Regions from separate parts of the Homo sapiens genome. Here regions 2, 3, 4, 5, 6 and 7 are each linked to region 1. The links are contacts of gene promoters, found by promoter capture Hi-C in blood cells and fetal thymus (Javierre and others, 2016). All regions are on one chromosome and are shown on one strand. Each heading gives the region's core, a stretch centred on a gene start or on the middle of the fragment in contact. The rest is flanking DNA. Distances are from core to core; before and after follow the strand shown. Region 1 holds the start of EGOT (eosinophil granule ontogeny transcript). Region 2 has its middle 5.6 kb from the start of MIR4790. Region 3 holds the start of SETMAR (SET and mariner transposase domain methyltransferase). Region 4 has its middle 35 kb from the start of SETMAR. Region 5 overlaps ARL8B (ARF like GTPase 8B). Region 6 overlaps SUMF1 (sulfatase modifying factor 1). Region 7 overlaps SUMF1 (sulfatase modifying factor 1).

Region 1 (2,667 bases), core at 57-2,556:
AGGGGCTATGTTGGTCTCATCCCTGACTGTATTGACGCCAATGTGTATAGCACCTGACACCCAGGGAGTGCTCAGTAAGTAAACATCTGCTATATTAAGCCGGCTGTGGTGACACAAGCCAGTAGTTCTAGCTACTCCGGAGGCTGAGACAGAAAGATCTCTTCAGCCCAGGAGTTCAAGGCCAGCTTGGTCAACACAGTAAGGCCTCTTCTCTCTTTTTAAAAAATTTACTATATTAATGAATGAACAATAATCCTGAAGGAGGTGCAATTCCGAAACACTCAAGCCAAGCTTTGCATCCATGGCAGCTGAAGTATAACTTTATGGCCAGAAGAAGCCTGCATGTGAAAGCTCAAAGTCCTGCTAAGTGGGAATATGCAGCACACCGCAGACCAGCCAAAGGCAGCTGATGTGGTGTTGTCACCTCTACGGGCTTATCCGGTTTTTGCACGTAACTCTGTGATGGGCTCAGCCTGGCTGAGGATCCTTAATCCATCGAGTTAACTGTTAACTACCCCGGCCCCAGTGACACAGCAGCTTGCATGATTAACTACAGCCCGGGAGGGATGATCATTTGTGCACCTTCCGTCTCCAAACCTGGCTCCCTCCCCAGACTTGATAGCTACAAGCTCTGGGCTCAACAGTTTGTGGGTTTGTGTTGCAAGGAGGCTAATAAAAACATATTTCTCAAATACCATATGGTGAGGGCAACTGCAACACATCCTCCTCGAAGAGCAATAAAATATATATATTTTTAAAGTCCTGAATTCCAGGGGAAAAACGAGGCTTGAAGACTTCAGAGGGTTTACAGGACTATCCCCTTCAGTGTCAGAGCCATCTTGATCAAAAGTCTAAAACCCAGGAATAGGAAATTGGTAGAAACTTTGAGAGAGCCTCTGACAGTTTCAAAGAGGAACTCAGAGGACCTCAGGAAATGTGAGCGGGCATAGATTTCTCCGTGAAAAGGAGGGTCAAGGCAGAAGAACCAGAGGCAACTGTGAACATCAAGTCAGTTCTCAGGGAAGCAGGGGATCCAAGTGTGTACATGAGGCGCCTTCACTGTCCCTGCATCAGGAATCTAGCTGTTGGCACCTTATAATGAGAAAACAGTCTCAACCATGAAGTTAACTCTGCTGGAAGATTTCCAAAGGGAAAGTCCCTCCCGTTACTCAGAGGGGAAAAAAAAATTACCTACTTGGTCTGGAATCCGGGGATATTTTATGCAGATGTCTCTAACAGAAGTTAATAAAGGGAAGTCAGCTTGCCTCTGATTATTCAAACAGGCTACTGCTATTAAGGATTGCACAACTTCTGGGCAAGGCAGAGGTGGGTTTGGCTTTTTAAAAATTTTTTCAGCCTGTCCTCATGGAACTACATATTCTTTTCTAAGAACTTTTCATCCTAACCTCCCTACTCACATCTTCTAAGTGTCTCTGCTCTGGTGGGAATGTGATGGACAACACAGAGCCATCTCAGAAGCCTCTGTGGCCACCACCAGGCCGGCCAGGGTGCAGGGGGCCACTCCCTGGGCAGCCATAGGGTTCTCAGCAAGGTGCATTCGTCGTCCCTGCTGAGAATCTGATGGGGCAGCATTTTTTTTTTTAATTAAATGCAAGCTGAGTCATTTCAACCTGCAACCTTCAGGTAACAGGAGTTACCCAAGCTCCAGGAATTATGATTGTGGGGTAAACCCATTCTCTTGTTTTCTTGCGGTTCTATTTTATAACGCACTAGAGGAGACAGAGACGTCATTGCTTCACCCAGGGCAAGAGGACAAAGGAGGATGCATGGAAATACAAACAGCCCTTCTCCTCCAGGCCATACCGACTGTCCAACTAGCAACAGACTTCACCTGGTTTTGGAGCAATCTGAATTTGGAATATGCCAGAGAAAACTTCTATCAGGCAAGATGGAAGACTCCTAGGATAGGTCTCTCTCATGGAGGGATTGGTAATAAAAAAATCATGGGAAAAGAAATAAGGGAGGGTGGAAAAAACACACCTTAGAAAACAACTTCTGATGTCCCGGGGCTACACAATGGGGGAGCTGAGCACTTAGGAAGGAGAGGGAAAATATTCTGTTTCCGGAGACAGCTCCAAGAATCATGAGTAGGTGTGAGAAACAAGGAAGCTTACAGATTTAAAAAAAAAAAGAAAGAAAGAAAGGAAGGGGGCAAAAGGAAGGAGTCAGGGAAGGGGGGAGTGAGATCTTTGAGAGACAGGGGAATTAAAAAACACCATAGCAACAACGCAGTCCACCTACCCTGGCCGCCCACCCACAGCCAGATTCTTTACTGACGCATTTGAGAACAAGCTGGTTCCTACCAGCTCAGGAAGGTGAGCAAACCCAGAGAGCTCATTAAATCCCTTCTCAGCGACTCTTGTCTGCCTGCAGATAGTGAGCAAGGAGGATATAAATAGAAGTTATATAACATCTCTTTGTTGATTCCTGTGCTTACCAAAAAAAAATGCAGCATGACCTTGTTTTTCTTTAGAGTTTGCCTCGGCCTGCTGGTTGAGGACTTTAATCCAGATAGGAATCATCTTGAAGTTTAAACAGCAGGATATAGATTTCCAAGTTAAGGGTGCTCTGCATGGCCATCCAAGTTAGGAACCCACAGGGTCAAGTCCTCCTCCGCGGATTAAAAAAAAAAAAATCCACCAGCTC
Region 2 (2,667 bases), core at 51-2,550, 490 kb before region 1:
CAGGTGAAAACTCTCTGAGTCACCCAGGTCCAGGCACACAATATGTGCAGGAATTAACCCTCAGGGGATTCCAGCCCCCTGAGGTTGTGTTACCACCAACTTTTGAGTCTTCCCAAATGAGGATCCCCAACCACCCAGAGCACAGACAAGCTGTCCCCAAATGGGTATACCCTATCTGATCTCCTGACCCACAGAATCCATGAGCACAAGTCACTAAGTGCTGGAGTAACTTAGTGCCCCGCCATTATACCTGGAACAAGAGGACAGAAAACCACCTGACCTAGGAACACGGTGAAGGCCAATAAATTCTATCAAATTCTATCAAAGCCCAGAGAACTCAGTGATATAAGCAAGGCCCACTGTCTTATCCTAAAATCTACCAGATTTGGACTCTCTCTCTGTCTGGCCTACACAGTACGTTGAGCCCATTTGATCTTATCAAACAGAAATTACAGAACAGAAAGAATCAGCAACCAGCAAAGATGGCCTTACTCTTATTATTGCCTATCAGAGATGATGCTAAGCTATACCAGACACTACTCCTACCCTCAGGGAAAGGTTGAGATTCTTCAATAGTCTGAACATTCCTGGGCCTCAGGGCTTGCATAGTGCACTTAGCAATGGGGACAGGAGAGAACTTCTTGCAGTACATCCCCCAAAGAGATGGGTAATCTGATAACTCTTAATGCTTTTCCCTGGGCAGAAATGCTGAGGCCATGGTGCTATCCCAGCACAATTTTCTTTTTTTTTTTTTTAATTTATTATACTTTAAGTTCTGGAATACATGTGCAGAATGTGCAGGTTTGTTACATAGGTATACACGTGCCATGGTGGTTTGCTGCACCCATCAACCTGTCATCTACATTAGGTGTTTCTCCTAATGCTATCCTTCCCCTGTCCCCTAACATCCCAACAGGCCCTGGTGTGTGATATTCCCCTCCCTGTGTCCATGTGTTCTCATTGTTCAACTCTCACTTATGAGTGAGAACATACAGTGTTTGGTTTTCTGTTCCTGTGTTAGTTTGCTGAGAATGATGGTTTCCAGCTTCATCCATGTCCCTGCAAAGGACATGAACTCATCCTTTTGTATGGCTGCATAGTATTCCATGGTGTATATGTGCCACATTTTCTTAATCCAGTCTATCATTGATGGATATTTGGGTTGGTTCCAAGTCTTTGCTATTGTGAATAGTGCCACAATAAACATATATGTGCATGTGTCTTTATAGTAGAACTATTTATAATCCTTTGGGTATATACCCAGTAATGGGATTGCTGGGTCAAATGGCATTTCTGGTTCTAGATCCTTGAGGAACTGCCACACTGTCTTCCACATGGTTAAACTAGTTTACACTCCCACCAACAGTGTAAAAGCATTCCTATTTCCCCACATCTTCTCCAGCATCTGTTGTTTCCTGACGTTCTAATGATTGCCATTCTAACTGTCATGAGATGGTATCTCATTGCTATTTTGATTTGCATTTCTCTAATGACCAGTGATGATGAGCTTTTTTTCATGTTTGTTGGCCACATAAATGCCTTCTTTTGAGAAGCGTCTGTTCATATCTTTTGCCCACTTTTTAATGGGGTTGTTTTTTTTTTTCTTGTGAATTTGTTTAAGTTCCTTGTAGATTCTGGATATTAGCCCTTTGTCAGATGGATAGATTGCAAAAATTTTCTCCCATTCTGCAGGTTGTCTGTTCACTCTAATGATAGTTTCTTTTGCTGTGCAGAAGTTCTTTAGTTTAATTAGATCCGATTTCTCAATTTTGGCTTTTGTTGCCATTGCTTTTGGTGTTTTAGTCATAAAGTCTTTGCCCATGCCTCTGTCCTGAATGGTATTGCCTAGGTTTTCTTCTAGGGTTTTTATGGTTTTAGGTGTTATGTTTAAGTCTTTCATCCATTTTGAGTTAATTTTTGTATAAGGTGTAAGGAAGTGGTCCAGTGTCAGTTTTCTACACATGGCTAACCAGTTTTCCCAACACCATTGATTAAATTGGGAATCCTTTCCCCACTGCTTATTTTTGTCAGGTTTGTCAAAGATCAGATGGTTGTAGATGTGTGGTGTTATTTCTGAGGCCTCTGTTCTGTTCCATTGGTCCATATATTTGTTTTGGTACCAGTACCATGCTGTTTTGGTTACTGTAGCTTTATAGTGTAGTTTGAAGGCAGGTAACGTGATGCCTTCAGCTTTGTTCTTTTTGCTTAGGATTGTCTTGGCTATATGTAGGCTAACACAACTTTCTTAAGCCTTATTTGGAATAGAAAAGATAAGCTCTCCCTACTATGTAGGAGAACATGTATCAGAAGCAAGTGTGATTTTTAAATCAAGAAGTGTTCAGTAGAGGGTTTGCAAACATTATGTATACTCTTCCTTTATACAGATAGATATGCAGCCCATCTCTGGGAAAGGACACAGAAACCTTTGGGAGACTCCATGAAAGGACTGTTAGAAAATGACCATAGTCGCTGTCGCTCTCGCTCTCGTTCTCGCTCTCGCTTTCCCTCTCCCTCTCCCCACGGTCTCCCTCTCCCTCTTCCCACGGTCTCCCTCTCCCTCTCTCTCCACAGTCTCCCTCTGATGCCGAGCCAAAGCTGGACTGTACTGCTGCCATCTCGGCTCACTGCAACCTCCCCGCCTGATTCTCCTGCCTCAGCCTGCCGAGT
Region 3 (2,667 bases), core at 54-2,553, 450 kb after region 1:
TAGGGTTCATTGTTGATAATGGATGTTAAAGGGGCTATGCATTTTTAAATTATTATTTTCATTTTGCAGATGAAGAAACTCAGGCTCTGGGAAGTAGCTAAGATGTCTAAGCTCCGAACCATACTCTCCAACTTCCACGTCCAGCGCTCTTTCCACTTCAAAATCTTTGGTCATTCCTTATTCCTTGGGTAACGCTCAGGCCAAGGTCGGAGGGATAAGAAAGTCAGTAGAGGCTGGGAGCGTGGCTCATGCCTGTAATCCCAGCATTTTGGGAGGCCGAGGCGGGCGGATCACCTGAGGTTGGGAGTTCGAGACCAGCCTGACCAACATGGAGAAACCCTGTCTCTACTAAAAATACAAAAATTAGCCGGGCGTGGTGGCCCATGCCTGTAATCCCAGCTACTCGGGAGGCTGAGGCAGGAGAATCGCTTGAACCCGGGAGGTGGAGGTTGCGGTGGGCCGAGATCGCGCCAGTGCACTCCAGCCTGGGCGACAGAGCGAGACTCAGTCTCAAAAAGAAAAAGGAGAGTAGAAAGGGCTTTGAGGTAGTTAATAGAAGCAAACATTTACTGAGTTCTTACAGCAAACCGGAAAGTGTATTTTCCTTGCCATTTTCAAAGCACTCCGGAAGAGAGGTACTGTTCCACTGTACGCTGGAAGACTCTAAGGCTGAGCCACAGCTAATTTACACTCGCCCAAGAGCCCACAGCGTGAGGGAGACCACAGCTAAGGCTGACTCGAGGGGCTGTTTTTATGCACGACACCGGCTGCGATCCATTAATAGGCCCCACGGCTTATCCTACCTGTGAGAGACACCTGAGACCAGGGAGGTAAATGACTCCCCCCGTGATGCCTCCTTGAGTTCTGAGGACAGGACTGGACAAAAAGCCAGGTTCTCACAAGGCCTCCGGTTCTGCGCTTCAGGGAATGGACTGAAAAGGACAACACCCTTGCTAAGGTGATGCCGTGGGTCAACAGAAAAAGGCCCAGGCCGGGGCATGCACACCTATTCCCGCGCACCAACGGGTGCGCTGTAAGAGAAGACAAAAGGTCGCGACTGGGAGGCCGTCCCAGCGAGGCGGCTTGAGGAGACCACGTGGGGGAGCCGCGCGCCCGCCTCCCGCGCCGCCTGGCCCCGCCCCTACCTGGAAGGGCGCCGGCGCGGCCCCCGGGGGCCACGCGCCCACCGGCAAGTTTTCCTGGCCGCACGCGACATCCAGCTGCTCAGTCGGGGCCTCAGGCTTCTCCTTAAACTCCGCCATCCCACAAGGCCGTGTCGTCTTTGCCGCTTCCGCGAACATTTACCCGCCTCACGCAACGCCCACTACCCTGACAGTCCTGGGCCGCGCGGTGGATGCTGGGACTTGTGGTCCCGTGGCCCCACCGCCTCATGGGAATTGTAGTTCGTTTCTTCTCAGGAGTGGCCTGGAAGGCGCTTCCCTTCCTTGACTTTTTGGGTCTGGCTCCCGTTTTGATTTCAGCCAGAGGCACCACAGATAATTACAAAACCATGTAAGGTACGGACGAAACAAAGTGAGGTGCTTTAGTTTTTCCTGGGAGCATCAGAGAGGGGGCTTTCGAGGTGAGGTCATTTGTCCAGGTTTTTGAGGGCTCACTGCACGTTTGTGGAGTGGAGGCAGGGGTGCGTTCTAAACCGAGCGGGGAAACGCACACCAAGGTTTCTAAAGGTCTGCGGCTTGCCGGGAAGTTGACTGACATGTGATAGGGTTTGTGCCAAGGCGATAGCCTCACAGGGTGCCTTAAGGAATTTGTGTGGGGGCATGCTCACTCCCTGATGGAGGTATCCGTGCCCCTTTGCCTGTCCTTTTCCCTCCTCTCCATCCCTCTACCCTCACCCCTCCAAACCCCTGCCCTGCCAAAGGATTCTGATAGCCTCAAGACTGCTGAATCCGGTGGAGCATTTTCAACCTCACTGAAGCTCTCTGACATGATTGTCCTGCTTCTCCTTGAAACTGTAAACCAAAAATAAAATTCCAATCCTCCAAACCATCTGAAGGGACCCCTCCTCTCTGCCAAGGTTAACCTGAGAAAGTGGTTCAGGCCATGATGGGAAGGGGGGTCCAACATGCCTCATTATGCCCTTCTTCCTTTTGGAATTCAGGAAAAGCCAGCCAGCATCAACATCAACACACACCTTAAGTCTGATAAGAAACATTTACAATCTGTTCTCTGAAATTTACCTCTTGGAGGCTTCATCTCCACGATCAAATTTGGTATCCACAACCTCTTATTGCAACCCAGACATTCGTTTCTATTGATTTTAGGTCTTTAGATAATAACCAGTTGCCAATCAGAAAATCTTTAAATCTACCTATGACCTGGAAGCCACCCCTCACCCGCTTCTCGTTGTCTGCCTTTCCAGATCCAACCAATCTTACATGTATTGATTGATGTATTATGTCTCCCTAAAATGTGTGAGAGTAAGCTGTATCCCAACCACCTTGGGCACATGTCATCAGGACTGCCTGAGGCTATGTTGGGGGCGCATTCTTAAGCTTGGGAAAATAAACTTTCTAAATTGAGACCTGTCTCAGATAATTTTGGGTTCACAAACCCTTCTGACCTTGCAGCTTCTGAGGTCCCATTGGCCTAAATGTGTTTCCATCTTGCAGACCTTTCCTTGTTAGTATCCTCTTGTTGTTTTCC
Region 4 (2,667 bases), core at 88-2,587, 410 kb after region 1:
TGTGGGAATATTTGTACAGCAGTTGTTGTGTGCATTGCCCAGATGTCCTAGAAGGACTGAAAGATGTATTCATCTAATTGCTGAGAGTGCTATCAGCCTTCCTACCCAAGACCTCTTTCCAGGGGGCAGTCTACATCCACTGACTGGTTGATGCAGAAATCTAAAGACCCTGTCCGCAGCTACAACAGACTGGTTGATGCAGAAATCTAAAGACCCTGTCCGCAGCTACAACATGGAGCCACCCTAAAAAGCTGCCTTGGCTTCAGAGCTACCTGCGGGTTGGCTGAGGTCTTCGTTGAGATTTCATTGCAGCCCAACTCCTCCTTTGCCCAGCCTGCTTCCTTTCCTTCCATTCCACAGGTGGGAATCCTAGCAGCAGCTCTTGATCTTCCTGTGCTCCAATTTTCCTCCCAGAGACTGCTTCCTTGGGTACCCCCTGAGCTGTGGGGCATACCTCACAAGGAAAATGGGACAAGTTGAGACTTTAAAGAGGATGGGGAAGAAGTCAATCAGTGATGAAGGGAGGGGCGGAAGGATTGGACATGGGAGGTGTCCCAAGAGAGGAAAGCAGCATGAGTGAAACATAGCCTAAGGCCCATTAGGAACAGGAGAGCCACAGAAATGGGCTACGTCACAGAATGAGGAGGGAGTAGTGGGATATTGCTGAGGAAGTAGTTTGTGGAAGGTATTAAGGTCCCCAAATAAAGAGTTTGAACTTGGTTGGAAAGTTAACGTCAGGCTCATCACACTAACATTAGTTGGCTCAGTCAGCAATACCCATTCAGCACTGGCGAGGCTCTGGTGAGCAAAGACAGACCTGGTCCCAGTCCGCCAGGATCTTACAGTCTCATAGAGTAGCTAGACATAACTCAATCACACGAATGCCAAATTTGCACACACACACTAAATTATAGGGGCTCAAAGACCCAATGAAAGACTCTGTGTACTAGGTATACATATGTACTAGGTATACCTGTGAGAGACTCTGTACTAGGTATACATATGAGACTCTACGTACTAGATATACATAGGTACTAGGTAGACCTAGTACATAGACTCTGTCATTCAAATTTTGTTTTGGTTTTTCCCTTATGAGACCATGAATTCTTTGAGAATGAAAATTGCTTTGCGTCCTGATTTCTCCAGAATGTAACAGTAGATGCTCGAAAACATTGGTTGAATGAATTATGAGCTCAGGGACTCAACTTCCCACCACTTAGCATGTACTAGATTCTTGACAAACGTTTGTGAATGAATGAATGAATTGTTTTGGTGTCAAGGTGGTTCAACCAGAACTACTTCCAAAGTGCTGATAAGGTGTCATGTTGTTCATAAAGCCACACTGACTTTATTTTAAGAACTGCTGAGAGATTTTAAGAGACCTTCCCTGTGTCAAGATGCCTTTTCTTTTTGAATGGATGACGATAGTAAATATTACTTTAAAGTATCTTTTTTTTTTTTCTTTTTAATAAAGAGACAGGGTCTCACTTTGTCTGCCAGGCTGGAGTGCATGGTGTGATTGTAGCTCCCTGCAGATTGTAGCTCCCAGAGACTGGGCTCAAGCCATCCTCCGCCTGCTTCACCTTCCTGAGTAGTGAGGATTATAGGGATGCACCACTGTGCCAAGCTCTAAAATATTCTTACTACTCAAAATAGTCAATAATTTAGTTGTCAAAATTAATTTTTGAACTAGTCAAAAATTTGGAAGCAATTTCTGCAAAGCAAGTTGGGATAGAGGGGAGGCCTGGTGTCTGTTGAAGATAAAGGATTAATCTTTGAGCTGCCCTTGATTTTTTATCCTTGAAAAAGTTGAGGATGTCTATGATTGGGGGTTTACTGGGAGGGAGGTGAGGTGATTACTGAGAGGAAAGGGAAACAAGGTTATTTTCAAGAGTTGGGTAGGAGATACAGATTGGCAAGAAAACACTTCCAAAATAAGCAACAAAAACAAACCCACTTTGTAAAACTGTTTGAGGGCAGATGAAAATTTTAATTGAAGAGATGCAATTATGTTCAATGCAGGATAGGAGAAATGGGTTTTAGATTTGTTTGAAAGCACTTTTCTGTATCCACCTACTATGCACAAATGCTTTGATGTAGTGGCAAGTTAGGAAAGAGGAGGGAAGTGGTCAAGGGATGGAGGGAGGGTAGAGTGTGGGCTGCTCAGGTAGGTACCATGGTGAGCAGAGGTTGTGGGCATGTGGGGTTGGAATTAGTGGGATTAGCAGTTTGTAACTGGCTGCCCTTATAAATCCGGGAGCATTAAATATGTCTGGACGAGAGGACTAACAAAAGTTGGCAAAGTGATACATGGTAGAGATGGTCATCCAGTAATGAAGTAATTTGTGTTTTCCCAGGGGTGTAGCAGTGAGGATGAGGCTGGGCAGCTGGCTGCAGGAAGATGAATGACAAGGGGACAGTAGGGTGATGGAGGTGATGGATAGCTGGTTGACAGCAAACAGGAAGAAACAAAAGGAGGGGGAGTGAGGGAGAGAGGGAAGGAGGGAAGGAAGTAAGGAAGGAAGGAAGGAAGAAAGGAGGGAGGGAGGGAGGGAGGGAGGGACAGAAAAGAGACAGAGAAATAGAACATATTGCTGGCTCTCTTGTTGTTTTAGCTGCCTAGTGGCTATGTAAACAAGAATCATAAGAGATGGAATATGGGAAATG
Region 5 (2,667 bases), core at 89-2,588, 420 kb before region 1:
TAAATCGTGATTATATTTTTCTTAAATATTTTCATTGTAATTATATTTATTGTGATAGGCTTTAATCTCTGAGGAGAGATCTACGTGAGATAATGCTCATTTATTTCATATCATTAAGTGTTTTACATAATGAAGAGGCAGGAAAAATAGTAGCTAAAATTTTTAGGTACCAAACTTTACAACTAGCTTGCATGGAAAGCTTTCTAAAAGGCAATATACACTTGGCTAACTTCCCACAAACAACCTATAGAACATGATTTAATGTGTTCTCAATGTTTCTGGGTCAGTTTATCTATTGCAAAACAAGAAAACTAAATTAGATAACACTCAAGGGCCCTCCCTATTGGAGGTAAAGTTTTATGATTATGAACATCAACTACAGCACTTCATAATAAAATAATGTAGGGGGCTGCAGTATACTGGGGTACCCCCGAGCTTTCTCAGGGGTTCATTTATCTCTTTTCTTTACCTTGGCCAACCCTAACAACTTTCCTGTAACTCAGCTGCTACTGCTAACATGCAAAAACCGAAAATTAGCTAATCAAGTCCTTGAGTTTTTACTCCAAAATTCTTGAGTAGAGCAAGATATTCAATAAATATTTGTTGAACAAACTAAGAGTTATTAGGGCCAGGCATAGTGGCTCAAGCTTGTAATTCCAGCACTTTGGGAGGCTGAGACAGGCAGGTTGCTGCGGCCCAGGAGTTCAAGACTAGCCTGGGTGACACGGCAAAACCTTCTCTCTACAAATACAAAAATTAGCCAGGCATGGTTATATGCACCTGTAGTCCCAGCTACTAGGGAGGCTGAGGTGGGAGGATTGCTTGAGCCTGGGAGGTGGAGGTTGAGATCTTAAGAACGATATGACTTTAAGACAAGATTGTGCCACTGTACTCCAGCCTAGACAATAGAGTGAGAGCATGTCTCAAAAAAAACATAGGCCATGAAGGAGGAAAATGCTGGAACTCTTCTGCCAATAAAGTGCTTAACTTTGATGCATGAATTTTGTGCAATAATTACTTTATGGACCTGGAAGTATTTTCTACTTCTTTCCTAGTGTCCAATCTTAATCATCACTTTTCAAAGCTTGTGTTGAACAACTATAACCACTCAGTTGGCAACTGGGCACTAGATACCTGAGAATTTATGTCTGAGCTGTCAAGAAGCTGCTTAATTAAGACTACAGGTTTGGGAAACAGATGTTTAGAAAATACTACTTAGTAGTATATCATTCTACTTATTTTAACAAATTTAACAAACACGTAATACTAAGCACTTAACATTCATCAGCATAGTTTAATCCTTATAACAACCCAATGAAATGAGTAGCATTATCTTCATTTCTCAGATGAGAAAAACAAGGCAAAGTCAGCTTAAGTCACTTGCCTAAAGTCACATTGTTCTTAAGATCTGGATAATTATGAGTTAATCTGACTTGGGGGGGAAAGAGTAGAAAAATAAAAGTAAGTAGTCCCTCCTTATCCTTGGGGGATACGTTCCAAGAACCCCAGTGGATGCCTGACATCACAGATAGAACCTAACCCTATGTACACTATGTTTTTCCCAATACATACATACCTATGATAAAGCTTAATTTATAAATTAGGCACAGTACTCTTCTGCTTTAGAGTCATTATTATTTCAGAGGTTGATCATAGGTAACTGAAACTGGAAAGCAAAACCATGGATAAGAGGGACTACTGTATGCTTTCATGCCTGCCTTCTTAAATGCCATGATCACACGTGGCACTCGCTGTGATTCTGTGATGGCAGATGGAGCTGTCACTGTCATAATGCTTACCCTCCTATAAGCCAAAGTTGCAAGGCAGTGTACCTGGAACTTGGTTGAACAAAATAAATCTGAAGCAAAATAAGATGGTGAAAAGAAGATTATTCTCAAAGTCAGGGAATCTTATTAACAATTATGCTACTTACTAACTAGATGCAAGTCATGTGACCTTGGGATTCAGCTTCCTTATCTAGAAAAAGGAAATTGGAAGAGTATCTCCAGTCACTTCCAGCCCTAACGTTTATGGTTTTATGTTCTATTCATAGGCCGTTCATTTAAAATACAGGTAAGCAAGGAGATGAATGCTACAACAGCAGAAAAATGTGGCTTTTCCCAAATTCATTAGCATACCAAAGGCTAAAGCAGACCTTGTCCTAGAAAGTTCTATCAGTGCCAACACTCCACTTTGCAGCACTTACCTACATTTTCTACTAGAGATCTCAGAAATGAGACAAATGGAAAATGGTGAAGAACGTACAGACAGCAACCAAAGTTAACAGCAGGAAGACTGAAGACATGAGGCGGTGAACCTCCAGTAATGAAAGGACACTTTACTAAAGATATCTTAAGACAGCTGGGCGCGGTGGCTCACACCTGTAATCCCAGCACTTTGGGAGGCCAAGGCAGGTGGATTGCCTGAGCTCAGGAGTTCAAGACCAGTCTGGGCAACATGGTGAAACCCTGCCTCTACTAAAATATAAAAAATTAGCCAGGCATGGTGGGGCTTGCCTGTAGTCCCAGCTACTCCGGAAGCTGATGCAATCGCTTGAACCCAGGAGGCGGAGGTTGCAGTGAGCTGAGATGGCACCACTGCACTCCAGCCTGGGCCACAGAGCATTACCAAAAAAAAAAAAAAAAAAACGAAAGATACCAGCCAGGC
Region 6 (2,667 bases), core at 1-2,500, 380 kb after region 1:
TGCCATAGGGTAAGTCATGTCACTAAACTGTTTTGCCGTTCTTGTTCTGATAGCAGTTTTATGGATCCATTGTAAATGATAGCCCCAAATGTCTCATTCACTTCTGCAAATGCCTACCTAACCCCACTGAAACCAGAAAAAAAGGAGGACAGTCATCTCAAATTTGGTTACAAGCATGGAGAAAAGTAACACAAGTAACAAAGGTTGTGAATGACCTATTGTCAACCAAATTTCATCTATTGAATCTTGCCCCTTTGAGAGACCTTTGTTGTCCCACGAACTGCACAGGGGTGGGTGTATATAACTTTTCCAGCATGTAAGTCTGAAAGCACACCCTTAATTTATTTGAGAATCCTGTACATTTCTGGATTTTCTGTTGAGATTCAGGTGAGAGTTATGTATGGAGGGCAGATTGTGATATACTGAAATGGAAGCATCCCGTGTTCTAGGTACAAAGTGTGCCTTGTGAAATAAGCATCATTCCCAGAGAGTGTTTCTTCTCTTTGGGCTATGATTTTAGTGTCTGAGCTGGCTTTCTTCATCAGTTAGAGTGACTTGGTGTTTCCTAAATAACCTTTATAAGGAATTTGGAAATAGAATACCATCCCTTCCCTTTTTTCTTTGAGTCATATATTTTTCACGTCTCCTGAACTCCAGCTTTCTATCCCTGTGCAGAGATGGCATTTTGCAGATTGTTATTGCCTCAAAGCTTCCCCTAGGAATTTATTCAGTCCAGGTGGTTAGAGACTTAAAACCACCTATAATGGCTCCAAATTAAGTTACTAATTTGATAATGATGGCATTATCAAATTTTGTCTTAAACAGTGGTTCTCAAACTTTATTCCACATTGTAATCATCTGGGATCTATATAAAATACTGATGTCTGGCTCCTCACTCACCCCCATTCTGATTTGATTTTTCTTCAGTGTGAGCTGGGCATTGCATTTTTTAAAGCTCTCCAGGTGATGAAAACATACAGCCAAGTTCGGGAATCACTAGCCTAAAGCAAATCTCTCTAGATTTTATGTATATATGTGAGTTTGTATGTATGTGTATCTTCTGTATTTCTTAGAATTTTTAATCCAGTGATTCAGGTTGAAGTTCATAGAGCAGAGCTCAATTGATGCTTTAGACCTACATTGGTAATAAGATGTAGACCAATTTATTTTCATGAAATCTTTTTTTTTTTTTTTTTTTTTTTTTGAGACAGAGTCTCACTCTTCACCCAGACTGAGGTGCAGTGGCACAATCACAGCTCACTACAGCCCCGACCTCCTGGGCTCAAGCGATCCTCCCATCTCAGCCTCCTAAGTAACTTGGCTAATTTTTAAATTTTTTTTAGAGATGGGGTCTTGCCATGTTGCCTAGGCTGGTCTTGAACATTTGGGCTCAGGAAATTCTTCCTGCCTTTGCTTCCCAAAGTGTTGGGATTACAGGCATCAGCCACTGTGCCCGGCCTAAAATCCTAGTTTTAATTTTAAATTAAAAGCATTGTCCCAGGTCTTCCCAATATATTTACATGTTCACGTATACATCAGAGTCTTTAATCCCAGATTGCTTCTCTATTTGAAGTTATTGCTACAAATGTACCTGGATCTTCTTGCCAGGAAACCAGACTTCCATGGAAAACAGGTGAATCTCTCTTTGTACAGTAGTATCTCAAAATCCTAATTGTCACCAGTTATGTCTCTGGCATATGGCACTTTTCTAAATTCAGAATCCATTTACTTTCTAAGTAATTGAGGACCAGAAGATTTTTCATCAAGAATAAATGGGGTAACAGAAGCTTGTAAAAAACATTTTAAGCAAGTAAAGGACATTAACTGTCCTAATTCCATGCGTATGAATGTATCTACTTTCATGTTTTATAACTTTTAGCTTATTTGTAATCTACATTTTTATAAGCTTCCCAGTAGATTCTTTAAAAATATCTTTTAAACTCCTACATACTTTATTAAGTACACTTACATGGTACTGATTTTTTATGTTCATCTTGAGTCTTGCAACCTTGCAAAACTCATTTATTAGTTCTAGTAATGTTTTTGTAAATTGTATCATATTTTCTACATAGCTGATCATATGATCTGTGAATATCGACAGTTCTTCCTTTTTAATCTAGATCCCTTTTATAACTTTTTCTTGCTGTATGTCATTGGCTAGAACCTTCAGTATAGGGTTGAATAGGAATGGTAAGAGTAGACCTTCATACCTCATTCTTGATCTTAGGGAATAAACATTCAGTTTTTCAAAATTGGATATGTATTAGCAATAGCTTTTTCATAGATGCATGCCCTTTACAGCTTGAGAAAGTTTTTTTCCATTGCTAATTTTTTAGAGTTTTTTATCAGCAATGGATGTAGATTTTGCTGGGAGCTTTTTCTGCATCTATTGAGATGATAATATGATTTTGCTTTTTCTATCTGTTCATATGGTGAATTACATTGATTTTCAAATATTAAGCTATCCTTGCATTCCTGGGATATGTATCATTCCACTTAGTCATGATGTATTATCTTTTTTATACATTTTTGGATTTGATTTGCAAAAATTATGAGTATTTTTGAATCTAGTTTATTCTGTGTTTTCTTGTAATGTCTTTATCTGATTTTGGTTTCAGGGTATTGCTGACTTCATAGATTGAGTTGTTAAATATTAACTTATTTTAA
Region 7 (2,667 bases), core at 70-2,569, 350 kb after region 1:
GGTTACCTTTTCACAGTGTATCACGCTCCTGGGAAGGGAGAGCCATATGCTATAAGATTGGGATGGCAGCAGTTCAGCAGGATGGGTTGGGCTTATCACAGAACCATTAAAAGAAAAGAGCAGAGAGTTTGCTAGTGTGGTTATTTGTCATTCTCAGTAAAGTTCTTTCTGCTGTGCTGAATAACAGAGCCATGGTTAAGTGATGAAAGTGAGGTCAGTCGCCTGGGTTTCCATCTGAGATTTAGCTTTAAAATGTCGTGGGGCCCTAGGTGAGTCATGTCACCCTTGTAGGCTTAGTGCTTCATCTGTAAGTTGTGCTGAGGATGTAGCAAGCCATTCCCACGGGTACAGTAAATCCGGGGAACTGCCCTTGGGTCTGCTGCTTGCTTGGAAAGTAGGCAGTGATGGAGGCTGCAGCTGACAGTAACATGGTTAAGAGGGTGTTTTTAAAATGATTTCCACCGAGTGTAAACTAGTTCAACCATTGTGGAAGACAGTGTGGCAATTCCTCAAGGATCTAGAACTAGAAATACCATTTGACCCAGCGATCCCATTACTGGGTATATACCCAAAGGCTTATAAATCATGCTACTATAAAGACATATGCACACGTATGTTTATTGTGGCACTATTCACAAGAGCAAAGACTTGGAACCAACCCAAATGTCCATCAGTGATAAACTAGATTAAGAAAATGTGGCACATATACACCATGGAATACTGTGCAGCCATGAAAAATGATGAGTTCATGTCCTTTGTAGGGACATGGATGAAGCTGGAAACCATCATTCTTAGCAAACTATCACAAGGACAGAAAACCAGACACCTCATGTTCTCACTCATGGGTGGGAGTTGAACAATGAGAACACTTGGACACCGGGTGAGGAACATCACACACCAGGGCCTGTTGTGGGGTGGGGGGAGGGGGGAGGGATAGCATTAGGAGAAATACCTAATGTAAATGACAAGTTAATGGATGCAGCACACCAACATGGCACATGTATACATATGTAACAAAACTGCACGTTGTGCACATGTACCCTAGAACTTAAAGTATAATAAAAATAAAATAAAATGATTTCCATCTAGGTCCACATCCCAGCTCTGCTATCTTGGGGCCAGGGGGTGAAATCCTTTGCTTCTGTTTCCTTGTCTATAAAATGGAGTAATAGTAAGATTCAACAATATTGAACTGTTCTGAGGATTAAAAAGAGAGGTTAACTCACTGTGCCCACCACACAGCAAGCACTTGGTAAATGAGAGCAGATTACGGTTTCTAAGCGCCTCTTGGTTGGAACATCTCCCTTTGGAAAATCCTTTCCCCTTCAGCATTGCCTCTTGTTGTTTAGTAGACCAGATTATGTTATTTTTCTTTCATTTGTTTAATAGCATTTTTGAGCACCTGCTGTGTGATAGTGGCAAACATAAACATCACGCAGTCCTTGCCTCCAGAGAATTTGAATCTCAGAATTCCTAATGGTGGTTTCTTATCATTTCCATGGTAATAGGCACTTTTGCTCCACTGATGCTTAGGAAGCCAGAACCAAAGCCCGGGTTTTTTGGATTTCTTTCAATCAAAAGATTGTTTATTCCTTTCCTATACTTTTCTTCACCTGGAAAGGCCATGGGGAAATTTCAGGGTGAGGGCTTGAAAGCCTGTCTTTCTTGGCTCCCTTAGTTGCATCCACAGCTGGCAGGCCATGTCTGAGCAGCTTTTCTGGGCAGAGGAGGGGTACTCTGGGAATTCAGGTAGAATTCGGCCCCCAGTTTGGGTCGGTTGCTTGAGGAATTTTATCTCTTGTCTTGGTGTGGTTTGAGGTATGAATCGAGAACAGAAATTTAGGCTCTCGGCTGGGTGCAGTGGCTCACGCCTGTAATCCCAGCATCTTGGGAAGGTGAAGTGGGCGGATCACGTAGCCTGGCTAACATGGTGAAACTCCATCCCTACTAAAACATACAAAAATTAGCTGGGTGTGGTGGCACGGGCCTGTAGTCCCAGCTACTTGGGAGGCTAAGGCACAAGAATCACTTGAACCTAGGAGGCAGAGGTTACAGTGAGCCGAGATCGCGCTACTGCACTTCAGGCTAGATGGCAGAGCGAGACTCTGTCTCAAAAAAAGAAAAACAAGAAAAGAAAAGAAAGGAAATTTACGCACTGTTTTGAGGGCCAGACTCTGCCAGAGTTGGCATCCTGTCTTCCACTTCCGTGGGCCTTCCTTTCCATCTTTTTCATGACCTGGGCTCTCCCTGGACAGATTGTTTTTTCTTGGCAGTGAATTACAGTTAACCCTAAATGTTCCCGCACTGTCTCAGCCTGTGATTGCTGCTTAATATTTTCAGATAGGGCTCTGTCTCATCACTCTTGGCTGTAAGCAAAGATTAATAAACATATATATTCCAACTCAATAATTCTCTTCTTTACATTTTCTCACATAGAGTAGTCCATGTTCATAAAGAGTTTTCCCACAGTACTCCTGAGTCATCACAAATGGTTTGGGGGGGAAGAGTGGTCTCCGTCAACTTAAAGATGGCCCCCAAGCCCTTCCCCACTGTAGCTTTATAGATTTTTAGGGTGAAATGTGTTTCGGGTTAAAAGAAGATATATGCCTCAGACCCTGCATCCCTGTATAATATAGTCCTGACTTTACTCCAGACTGCTGTGCTTCT

Evidence for each region. The method cuts DNA at HindIII sites, captures the fragments that hold promoters and counts their contacts. A CHiCAGO score of 5 or more calls a contact.
Region 2: a contact is called between a fragment that was not itself captured here and the fragment with the promoter of EGOT in region 1, in 1 of 17 cell types (activated CD4 T cells). The highest score is 5.1, in activated CD4 T cells.
Region 3: a contact is called between the fragment with the promoter of SETMAR here and the fragment with the promoter of EGOT in region 1, in 13 of 17 cell types (neutrophils, naive B cells, total B cells and 10 more). The highest score is 13.7, in neutrophils.
Region 4: a contact is called between a fragment that was not itself captured here and the fragment with the promoter of EGOT in region 1, in 4 of 17 cell types (total B cells, naive B cells, naive CD8 T cells and 1 more). The highest score is 6.8, in total B cells.
Region 5: a contact is called between a fragment that was not itself captured here and the fragment with the promoter of EGOT in region 1, in 4 of 17 cell types (total CD8 T cells, activated CD4 T cells, endothelial precursors and 1 more). The highest score is 7.1, in total CD8 T cells.
Region 6: a fragment that was not itself captured here is called in contact with the fragment with the promoter of EGOT in region 1 in 3 of 17 cell types (naive B cells, total B cells and activated CD4 T cells); the score reaches 10.0 in naive B cells.
Region 7: a fragment that was not itself captured here is called in contact with the fragment with the promoter of EGOT in region 1 in 1 of 17 cell types (total B cells); the score reaches 5.0 in total B cells.

What each region holds. Positions count from the first base shown.
Region 1 is chr3:4,750,229-4,752,895 of GRCh38, reverse strand. It overlaps EGOT (eosinophil granule ontogeny transcript), which reads left to right and starts at 1,306. Exons shown (of 2, transcript NR_004428.1): 1 at 1,306-1,950. All of the region lies in intron 44 of ITPR1 (inositol 1,4,5-trisphosphate receptor type 1), which reads right to left. The HindIII fragment of the contact is 1,839 bases long and covers 294-2,132 here.
Region 2 is chr3:5,243,369-5,246,035 of GRCh38, reverse strand. No RefSeq gene overlaps it. Among named protein-coding and RNA genes, the nearest start is that of MIR4790, 5.6 kb to the left of the region's middle. The HindIII fragment of the contact is 7,686 bases long and covers 1-2,667 here.
Region 3 is chr3:4,302,005-4,304,671 of GRCh38, reverse strand. It overlaps SETMAR (SET and mariner transposase domain methyltransferase), which reads right to left and starts at 1,303. Exons shown (of 3, transcript NM_006515.4): 1 at 1,146-1,303. The coding sequence starts at 1,301. It also overlaps a transcript of SUMF1 not described here. RefSeq lists enhancers at 866-935, 964-1,706 and a silencer at 1,026-1,365. The HindIII fragment of the contact is 4,274 bases long and covers 1-2,518 here.
Region 4 is chr3:4,337,080-4,339,746 of GRCh38, reverse strand. It overlaps a transcript of SUMF1 not described here. Among named protein-coding and RNA genes, the nearest start is that of SETMAR, 35 kb to the right of the region's middle. The HindIII fragment of the contact is 7,610 bases long and covers 1-2,667 here.
Region 5 is chr3:5,166,330-5,168,996 of GRCh38, reverse strand. All of the region lies in intron 1 of ARL8B (ARF like GTPase 8B), which reads right to left. Among named protein-coding and RNA genes, the nearest start is that of EDEM1, 20 kb to the left of the region's middle. The HindIII fragment of the contact is 503 bases long and covers 1,087-1,589 here.
Region 6 is chr3:4,373,672-4,376,338 of GRCh38, reverse strand. It overlaps SUMF1 (sulfatase modifying factor 1), which reads left to right. Exons shown (of 9, transcript NM_182760.4): 8 at 1-9. Among named protein-coding and RNA genes, the nearest start is that of SETMAR, 72 kb to the right of the region's middle. RefSeq lists enhancers at 1-182, 183-683. The HindIII fragment of the contact is 1,078 bases long and covers 712-1,789 here.
Region 7 is chr3:4,399,221-4,401,887 of GRCh38, reverse strand. The region is part of intron 7 of SUMF1 (sulfatase modifying factor 1); the gene reads left to right. Among named protein-coding and RNA genes, the nearest start is that of SUMF1, 67 kb to the left of the region's middle. RefSeq lists a silencer at 2,029-2,323. The HindIII fragment of the contact is 2,792 bases long and covers 1-2,667 here.